Linked DNA regions of Homo sapiens: region 1 is linked to region 2. Evidence: promoter capture Hi-C in 16 types of primary human blood cells and fetal thymus (Javierre and others, 2016). All regions are on one chromosome and are shown on one strand. Each heading gives the region's core, a stretch centred on a gene start or on the middle of the fragment in contact. The rest is flanking DNA. Distances are from core to core; before and after follow the strand shown. Region 1 overlaps PTPRC (protein tyrosine phosphatase receptor type C). Region 2 holds the start of NEK7 (NIMA related kinase 7).

The links. Contacts are between HindIII fragments. The CHiCAGO score rates a contact against its expected background, and 5 or more counts as called.
Region 1: a contact is called between a fragment that was not itself captured here and the fragment with the promoter of NEK7 in region 2, in 17 of 17 cell types (naive CD4 T cells, naive CD8 T cells, total CD8 T cells and 14 more). The highest score is 18.8, in naive CD4 T cells.

Annotation. Positions count from the first base shown.
Region 1 is chr1:198,686,885-198,691,647 of GRCh38, reverse strand. All of the region lies in intron 2 of PTPRC (protein tyrosine phosphatase receptor type C), which reads right to left. Among named protein-coding and RNA genes, the nearest start is that of PTPRC-AS1, 22 kb to the right of the region's middle. The HindIII fragment of the contact is 971 bases long and covers 1,730-2,700 here.
Region 2 is chr1:198,154,504-198,159,561 of GRCh38, reverse strand. It overlaps NEK7 (NIMA related kinase 7), which reads right to left and starts at 2,564. Exons shown (of 10, transcript NM_133494.3): 1 at 2,286-2,564. RefSeq lists enhancers at 80-299, 1,839-1,888, 3,319-3,378 and a silencer at 2,129-2,728. The HindIII fragment of the contact is 2,805 bases long and covers 652-3,456 here.

The sequences.
Region 1 (4,763 bases), core at 966-3,465, 530 kb before region 2:
GGATGTCTTTAAAGGGAGGCCTAAAGGAGAAACATTTGAATTTTAGATCAACCTTTCAGGAAATGGAAAATGGATTATTAAAGAGCAAAGGTGGGGGCAGGAAAATCAGGAGACCAAAACCAAAGCAAAACAGACAGAGATGATGTCCTACGTAGGAAGAGTATACCCCAAAAGAAAGGTTGGGGGAAAAGGACCTATGAAACACTCAAGAATCACCAAGACTTTGTAAATCCTTTCAAGTGAGAATAAAGGAGAAAGAGTAATAAGGAAAATATCTAGATTGATAGTTTAACATGCTAGTGAGTTATAGTTTCACTGAACTTGAGAGTAATAAACAGTGAGTAGAGAGGTGAATCAGAATTTGCTTGAGATTTCATGTGAAAATGTATAATAGCATTTGAATATAGAGGTTTGTAGCTCATGACATACATCTGGGCTGATGCTATAGATCAGCATATAGATACATTTTGCAGCTACAGAGGTGAAGGAGATCACCGAACTACATAAAAGAGAAGTGTCCAGGATAGAATCCTGAAGTTCAGTGAATATTAAGGAGAGAGCCAGCATAGGTAATCAAATTTTCCAAGTAAGAGGAAAACTGTAGCAAACAAGAATAAAGAGTAGAGGGTGTTTCGAGAAGGAAATGGTTGAAGTCAAATAATATGGGGATTCACATGCAGGATAAACATGGTGCATTAACATGGGTCAACTGGATTTATCATCTGGGTTTGTGGAAATGTTGAAAAGAGCAGCTTTCTTGGCATGATGGGAACTAGATTCAGTCTACAGTGAAGTGCAATGTTTTCATCCCTCATCTTAGTAAATGCCTATTTAAAAGATTGTAAAGTTCTTTTCCAAATGACTGTAAACTCAGGTTGTTAAAGAGAATCAGAGATCAGATGGGAAAGTGAATTAGCTGGTACTTAAGGTGACTTTCTGCCTTTATATTTTATCTTCTGAGAACAAACTGATGTGAAAACATTTTCTTCCTTCAGAGTTGCCATCCAAGGAGCATCACCCCGTATTCTTCAATGACATTCCCTGGCTTATTCCTTGAAGTAAAATGCATTTTTGATATATATATTTTTATATCATTGATGGGTGATACATAATTATTAACATAATGACTTTCTTGTTTTCTCATTACATTTCTCTTTTTCTTAATAATTCATACTTAAATATTGTTTTTAATTGATATTGTTTGTACTTTTGTCCCTTTTCTTATCTAGTTAGCTTTTATCTTTCTGTTTCATGTAAACTATTGTTATGTTTATGTTCCCATTAACAGCATTCCGCTCTCCTTATTTGTTCTTATTTCCTTGTAAATTACAGTCTTAGAATTGTGTTGATTTGCAAAAGAGGTAATAAGAAAAAAATATTAGTATAGCAATAACTAATAGCTCTCATGTTTGAAGTGAAAGGAAAAGTGTCCTTCATTGTTTGTGAAGAACAAAACATATCACCAAATTTAAAATATTCAAATTGTTTTTGAGTGTGTGAACATACTTTATACAACACATATCTCTTCTTTATCTGAGAAATACATGAGCTCTTACATATCTAAAATTAGGTTGATATGCCCCTTCTCATGCAAGCACCTCATTCCTTGGAACTTGAAACAAGTTAATTTAGTTCACTTAGGTTCAAGAAACATACATTGTTTTGCTGGTATGCTGTTGGAGACTAGGTTCAAACATGATAAAAGCATGACCCTTGCCCTGGATAAGCTTATAACCCATAAAACACATATATCTAGTCATCTGCAATGACATTTTAGTCATGGATACACCTGATTAAGACTAATAATCAAAATTTCTCGCATCAACATCAGCATGAATCACATAATAAGATGAGGAAGAGGAGGAGAAGAAAGAGAAATAGCTGTAGCAAAGAGTCTTGTGTATAAGAAGTGATTGATAAGTAATTGCTGGATTCTTTTAAGCATGAGTAAGTGCAAAGGAGAAATCAAACAGATCTGATGATAACAGCTTTAGGAGAAGAGCCAAGGAGCAAGCACTGTAGGCCTTGAAAAGGAGCTTGAACTTTTTCCTCAGAATGACGGAAGCCATTGGATCAGTTAATACAGAGGAGAAATCAGAAAGCAAATTTGATGACAGAGAAAAGAGAAATCTTAATGTTACCTGCACCACTAATTCCACAGACCCCTATATTCTGTTGTTCTGATTTACTACTTTGTTGTCACCAAAATGTGTAGCACCAACTATAGATAGAGTTTCATAAAAGAAAATTATAATTCATCATCTGTTTACCACAGAAATGAGAAGAAAAATGCTGGGACACTATGTGAAGCTATTTGTTTTTTAACAAAAGAACTGTGAATGCCTGAGTAAATATACTAGAACTGTTTCCAACCAGTACACTATTCATCAGACTACGTATATGTTCCATGTCTCAGAGAGATTAATAAACTTCCAAGTGGTCCAAAGGCAATACGTTTTTTAAAAGAAATACATGATGTATATTATTTTAATCTAACTTCTGAAAAGAAGGACAAGAGGTAAATTACCAAAACGGAGAAGACTGTTTCTAATGATTTACTTTTTTAAAGAATAATTTAGAAATAATATTTTATTGTTATTAATTGTTAATATTTATTGAGTGTTTACTGGGTGCCAGGCACTATACTAAGTCTTTTGCTTATGTTTTCTTTCTTAAGCACCACAAAAACCCTAAGAAGCTTAGAAAAGTCAAGTGTCTTGGCCAAGTTCACAAGGCCAGTCTAGTATATGTGAGCCAGACTTGAACCTGAGCCTGTCTGACTTTACAGGCCATGCTCTCATTCATCAGGCGTCCCCTTTTCCCATCAACTTGTCCTTACAGCCTTTCCTCTTCATATGAAATTTTAAGCATGAGAATTCTTTTACAGAAGGTGTTTATTAAAAACTCATGAGCTAAGTAAAAATGCATCTTAATCATAATTTGGCTGCAAGTAAATTACTAGTAGTGCTACAAATGCTAAAATAACCTTGACCCTAAAAATAGATATGCAGATTAAATCACAATGTGCTGAGTGAATGCTCTATAATGGTACAAACAAATATTAGAGAAAATTTAGAGGTGTGTCAAGTTAATTTATTACAGAATACTATTTTGACAGGAAAGTCAACCAAACTACACTAATATCAAGCACAATTATTAAAATTTACAGACCTTTTGTTTAGATGTTAAGAGGTTTCTGGAGCTAGAGGACAGAATAATGGGCATACATATACATTTTTTTCTGATCTCATCATCGCTCCATATTCAAAATTTCCTCGAATCTTTTCATCTTTAATGCAGCAAAATTTAATATCCTGGAAAACAGTATAATATCTAAAGAGCCAACATTTTCCTTTCTTCTATGTTCATGCTTACTTCCCATAAAGGCCTCTTGAATTGAATATGTGTTTGCTTGTACACTGATTTATCACTGGATATGATTCTAAATTCCTCCACTGAGTGATTTTTAGGTGACACTAAAACATTGTAATCTATGTTTTATTTCATTTTTATATACTATTTCAAATATGTGCGTGCACACACACACAGACACACACACACACACACACCCCACACACCATTTTATCTTTTTAAAAGAAAATTCCAAGACTTCAGCATCACTGTTTAGACTTAGTGTAAGACTCAACTTGCTTGTTCTCATGGTCATAAAATCCCTATAAACAGATTTTTAGTTTTGGTAACACTTTTAGTCAACATGATAAATGACATAAAAATGTTTTCGTGCCTGAAAAAAACACATAGAATCTATTTAAAATAAAAATTTTAAATTAAAAACTACTTTAAAATTTAAGCCAATGCCCCTAAGGAAATAAGGTATGCACTAGAGTGATGCAACTTAAAGCAACATATCAATTTTAATAAGCCATGTGCACTAGATTACATAAATCTATTTTTCAGTCTTTTTAATGTTAAACATTTTACCAGTCTTAAAGTAGGAACACGCTAAATGTGACCTATATAAAATAGCTTAGTTAAAACACCTACGTAACATCTAAAGGACATTCCCCACACCCCGCCCCCCCAGTCATCTAATGATTTTTACATCAACGTTAGCAGAACACTAACAAATACTTTGGTGGAGAATGCCTTTATATATGAAACAAGGTAGGGAGTAGGTGAAGGTACTTAACTATTTAGAGAAAACTATAAAACCAAATATCTGCAATAATTTATTAATTCTCTATCATATTTTAATTCTTCCTAAATTACATGAGCAATGACTTCAATTGTCTGTTGCACTTCATATGTGCAAACATTATTAAACATTACCAAAATCATAGATAGAAGCCACTGTGCTGAATCTTCACTGATAGAAAAAAAAGACCTGATGAGATTGGTTGTGGCCAGGTGCAATGGTTCACACCTGTAATCCCAGAACTTTGGGAGGGAGAGGCAGCTGGATCGCTTGAACCAAGCAATCCAGTCTGGGAAACATGCAAAACCTCGTCTCTACTTAAAATACAAAAATTATCCGGGTAGGGTGGTGCACACCTATAGTCCCAGCTACTTGGGAGGCTACGCCCATGAGTGTGTGTTGAGGCTGTAGTGAGATGTGATGGTGCCACTGTACTCCAGCCTGGGTGACAGGGTGAGACCCTGACTCAAAAACAACAACAACAACAACAACAACAAAAGATTGGTTGTATAACATATTTAACTACTTCATGACCTATCCATTTAGACTGGAGTATATGGTTAAATATTACTGTGCTTGTCCAATGCAAAACAAATGAACTGATGTA
Region 2 (5,058 bases), core at 1,315-3,814:
GAAAGATTCCCAAGAAGTTGTGAAAACGCCTAACGATTTAGATTCTGACATTTAGTGGTTTTCATTTTCAGGTAATTTCAGAGTAAAACCCGCCTCAGTCACATGGACTATATTTAGTCTGCTGACCAACTTCGCTTCTAATCTACTATAAACTTTCAGTAGTAGTTAAGTTCTAGGTGCAGCTGAATCACGAAACGGGACACCTAGGATGGCTCAGGGAAAACTGAAGCCCCCCTCCTCCTTCCTTCCTTCCTTCCTTTCTTTCTTTCTCCAGGCTGGCCCTCAGCCTGGCGCCCCTTCCGCAGACATCCCTAGAAAAAGAACTAACGCGGCCTTCTCCGAGCCCAGGGCTGGAGTAGGAAGTACCCGCCCTCCCGAACGCGAGGTCCTGGCTGCGCATTGGCTGCGAAGGCCGTCAGTACTCCGGAGGGCGGAGCCTCCCGGCACCCAGCGGAATTTCAGGCCCGCACCTCCGGGAGGGTCCTCCGGGCTCCCGGGCTCCTTCCTCCCCCTTAACACTACCCCCGCACACACACCGGCCCCGAGAAGGCAACTAGCCTCCTCAAACGGTTCCTTTGCCTTTTTATTTCGCAGGCCTTCCTCTCACCCCATACAGTTACTGCCCCTTTGACTCCTCCGAGAGGCAAAGCTTTTTCAAAGCTCTAACACCTCTCCCCTACCCCAGCAAGTTCCCCGTGCGAGACCAAATAGAGGATGCCGCTGTTCTAAGAGTGAAGCAAGCTGTGGACTGGATCTCGCCGAGGGAGAGAGAATTCCTTCCTCTGGAAATAAAATAACTGCTGAGATTTTAAGTTAGCTGTTTCAAGAGCACTTGGCCATCACCAAGTGTTACAAACCAAGAATACTCAGCGGCCATTCAACAAGAGTTGCCACAAAGCATTAGAGGGTTAACTGTATCTCCTGTTTTACTGTTCACCGTTTTCAGGGTTTGACCGGTTGTCCCAAACATACTGTAGCTTTTGAGTGCAAGGACTATGCCATTCTTCGACCACACCACCAGCAGCTCAAGGTCCTGAACAGAACATATTTATAATACACATACTCTGTACTTTAATTCTCTAATGCAACCTGACAAGACATACTGCTGTCGCCTGGAGGGAGTGTGCATAGCCTTGAAACTGTAAATTCCTTGGAGGAGGAACTAGAAACAGTGGTTCCCATTATGATGGGTACATTAGGCTCTACAAACTATGGAAATGTGGTGTTTTCAATTGCATCCTTGAGCTCAGTAACCTCAAAGGAGAATAATCATTTTATTTCTGTGTATTTCTGATTTTCAGTTCAGTCACCAGAATTGCGCAAGGACAGTAACATGTATCTTACTGTAAACTAAGTATATTTTTTAGCATTTCTCCCCAGTGAGGACTACAGCAAGGTGAGAACACGATACATCATCTCTCCGCGACCCCAGTACGCTCCCAGTGCAAGACTAAATAGAGGATGCTGCGGTTTTAGGAGTGAAGGCCTACAGTGTAACAGAGGCAACAGAAGTTCTTTAGCTCTCAAGGCAGCATCCTCTAGGTTGTGCTCGCTTCCTTACACTGTTCTGCGGTCATACGGTCTTGTCACTTTTCTCTGTTTTCCTTTGGCTACCCTTCTCTGACTTTGGCCTCAGTTTTCAATTTCTTTTCCATTGCCACCATCACCAGCAATGTTCGCTATTGCCTCGCAATCCCTCTCTCCGACATTTTGTAATCCCGAGTCTCTCCCAAGTTCATTCTCCGACAGACCTCTCACGCTCCCTGTACTTCTGAAGCCACTTCGGATTCTCCCCTATCTGCCGGCTCCCACCACCCACTCTCTCCCAGCGCACTTCACTTTCCTAAGTCGGGCTGCTGCCGAATCCTGACAGACGGACTTCACCAATCCGCGAGAGATAAATAACCGACGTCGCCAATGAGCATCCGCCGGAAGGCGGGACTTCGCTTAAGTTCCTCGGGTCCCGAAACCAAAGACCTGTTGCCGCCGCCGCCGTGGCCACGGAGTTTCTTAGTTACCGCGGCGCCCTTGGCGGCCTCGGGCCTCTAGAGCCGGGGCCAGGTATGAAGTTTCCTGCCGCCCCCTCCCACCGCTGCCAACGAACAAGACCGAAACCCCCATCCGCCTCGAGCGCAGCGCGCCCCGCCCCACCTACCCCGAGCGAGGGTATCCCGGAGGCCGCCCCGCGCGGTCCCGACCTCCCTCTCCCGGCCCGACTCCCGCAGGCGGCCCCTCCCGGCAGGAGCTGCCCGGTCCGGGCGCCTGAACCCTGGGCAGCGACTCACCAGGAAGTTGGGAGTTTTCCGTTCTCCCGCCCGCGAGAGACCTTGGGCGGGCGGGTGGCTCGGCGCGGCGCCGCCGTCGGAAAGCGCGCTGGGCCGGGGGCTGAGGCTGCGAGGCCCGGAGCCTGTCGGCCACCTCCCGCCGCGCCGCCCCGGCGGACGCTGCAGGCGCGGGGCACCCACCCTGCGCACTGCGAGGCGCGTCCGGAGTGCGAGCCTAGCGGCGGCCCATCCTCCCGCGACTCCCGATCCTCCTCCTGCTGCCGCCGCTGTCAGGAGTGTAAACATCCCGGCATCCCCGAGGAGAGGGGCGGGGCGGGCGCCGGCCCCACCCCGCGTCGTGAGTCCAGGCCGGCTGCCCGATGGAGGCTTCCCGCCTGCGTCCCCGGCGCTCCCTGGAGCTGGGGGAGCCTCGGCGGTTTCCCTACTGGAGCCGAAGTCGCTCTGGAGGAGCCCCTCCTGGCCCCTCTCTTCCGGTTGTCAGGCCTAGCGTGGTGCGGGGCACCGCGTCCGGTCCCCTGAGCCCTCTTCCCCGGCTGCTTTTTAAGAACCCAGGGTCGGCTGCTTTTTAAGAACTTGTTTTTTCTTCATTTATATGTAAGTGCCCCCACTTGCAAGCGGTGAACCGACTTACTGATGTTCCCTTCTGGACCACAGCGTTTGTGATCCCATCTTCTTTTACCAGGTGATTTAAACTACCTCTGTGTTTAATGTGGAGTGCAGGGAAATGAGAAAAAAAAAAAAAGGCGTTTTCCTGAGTCTGGCTAAGCAAACGTTGCATGAAAGTGTCCCAGCATAGAGGACAGGGGCTTCAACAACATTCCAGAAGGTAAACTCCCTGGTGTGGTACGGAGGATCTTTGAAATAAATATGTGCAAAATCACCCAGAACCCTAGTACACGAAACTGCAAAAGGAATGCTTTGACACCAGCAGCTTCACGACTTAAGTTAACAGGGCATGAACTACTCGAGGAGACGGCTAGGAGGCAGTATGGAGTCGGCCATACCTTAATTGTCGTCTCAACTCAGTGATTAATTTTGTGACCTGGCTGCAAGTTATTTAACCTCTCCAAGTCTCAGTAACTCTCTGTAAAAGGAGATTAGTTGTAATACCAACCTCTAGGACCATAGTTAGAATTAAGTGAGATAAAGCAAAGTGCTTAACCACAAAGCTTGGCATATAAGACGTGCTCATTAAATTGTTGCTGTTGTTCATAGGTCTCTCACTAGTTTAACTTCCCTGACAAAAAGATTAGAGCCAAGAATGAGTAGATTATACCTCAAACATTTAAAATGTTAAAGCCATGAAATTAAGATCTGGAAAGTTTATTTTTAAAAAGAAAAATGGCCGGGCGCAGTGGCTCATGGCTGTAAGCCTAGCATTTTGGGAGGCCAAGTGGGGGGGGGGGTGATCACCTGAGGTCAGGAGTTCGAGACCAGCCTGGCCAACATGGCGAAACCCTGTCTCTACTAAAAATACAAAAACTAGCCGAGCGTGGTGGCAGGAGTCTATAATCCCAGCTACTGGGGAGGCTGAGGCAAAAGAATCGCTTGAACCCGAGGCGGGGAGGAGGTTGCAGTGAGCAGAGATCGCGTTACTTCACTCCAGCGTGGGTGAAAGAGCGAAAATCCGTCTCAAAAAAATAAATAAATAAATGAAAACGTTCACGATCTCAAAAGGAGGCCTTGATTCATGTGGCTCAACAAATATTCATAAATGGGCTAGGCAATGTTCTAAGGAATGAGGATACAACAGCTCACCGAGATATACAGTGCCTGCTGTCATAGAGCTTATATTGTAGTCGGAAAGGCCAAAAAAAAAAAAAAGCCAATAAATACCTACTATGCCAGATGGTGAGTCATAGAAAAATAAAGCAGGGTAGGGAGACATGGGGAGGGAGGATGCTATTTTAAATATGTTTGTCTGGGAATGCCTCTCTGACATTTGAGCAGAGAACTAAGGAAGTGAGAAATTAGCCATTTGGCTACCCAGGGTTAGAATATTTTACACAGAAGGATCAGCAAATGCAAAGACCCTAAGTGGAAGTGGGCTTGGCATGTTTGAGAAATAGGCAGGAGGTCAGTGTAGGCTAGAATTCAGTGAGCGGTGGGAAAGCAGCTGACTAAATCAGAAGAGGGAGTAGGGTACAAGAAGGGTATAGTTGTAGAATCTTGTAACCTTTAAAATTTATTCTGAATGAAAAGGAGAGCCATTGGAGGAGTGACCAAATCTGATTTGGGTTGGGAGAGAAGAGCTGCACTGTGGAGAACAGATTGAGCCTAAGAGCAACTAGATGTTAGAAGACTATTGTAATGATCCAGGTAAAATACATTGATGACAGACCAGAGTGCAGGTGGTAAAAATGGTGAGATTCCATTTCTAAGAGCAAACAAGATTTGCTGATGTATTGAATGTCAGGTAAGAAAGGAGGCAAGAACAAAGCCAATGAAATTGGCATTTGAACCAGATCATTTTATCAGGTCACACCAAATCAAATCTGTCAGTCAATAGAAACAGTGTCACTGGCGTCATACACAGGCACACATTGCAGGAAAAAAATAACCAGATATCCTTAGGGTAAAGACATGTCAACCTCAGACCAGACGTATGTGTAAGGTTTTTTTCTGTTTGTTTTGGGTTTTTTTTTTGTTTTTTGTTTTTTGTTTTTTTGGAGACAGCCTCTCGCTCTGTCACCCAGGCTGGAGTGCAGTGGCGTGATCTCAGCTCACTGCAACTTCCACCTCCCAGGTTCAAGTGATTCTCCTGCCTCAACCT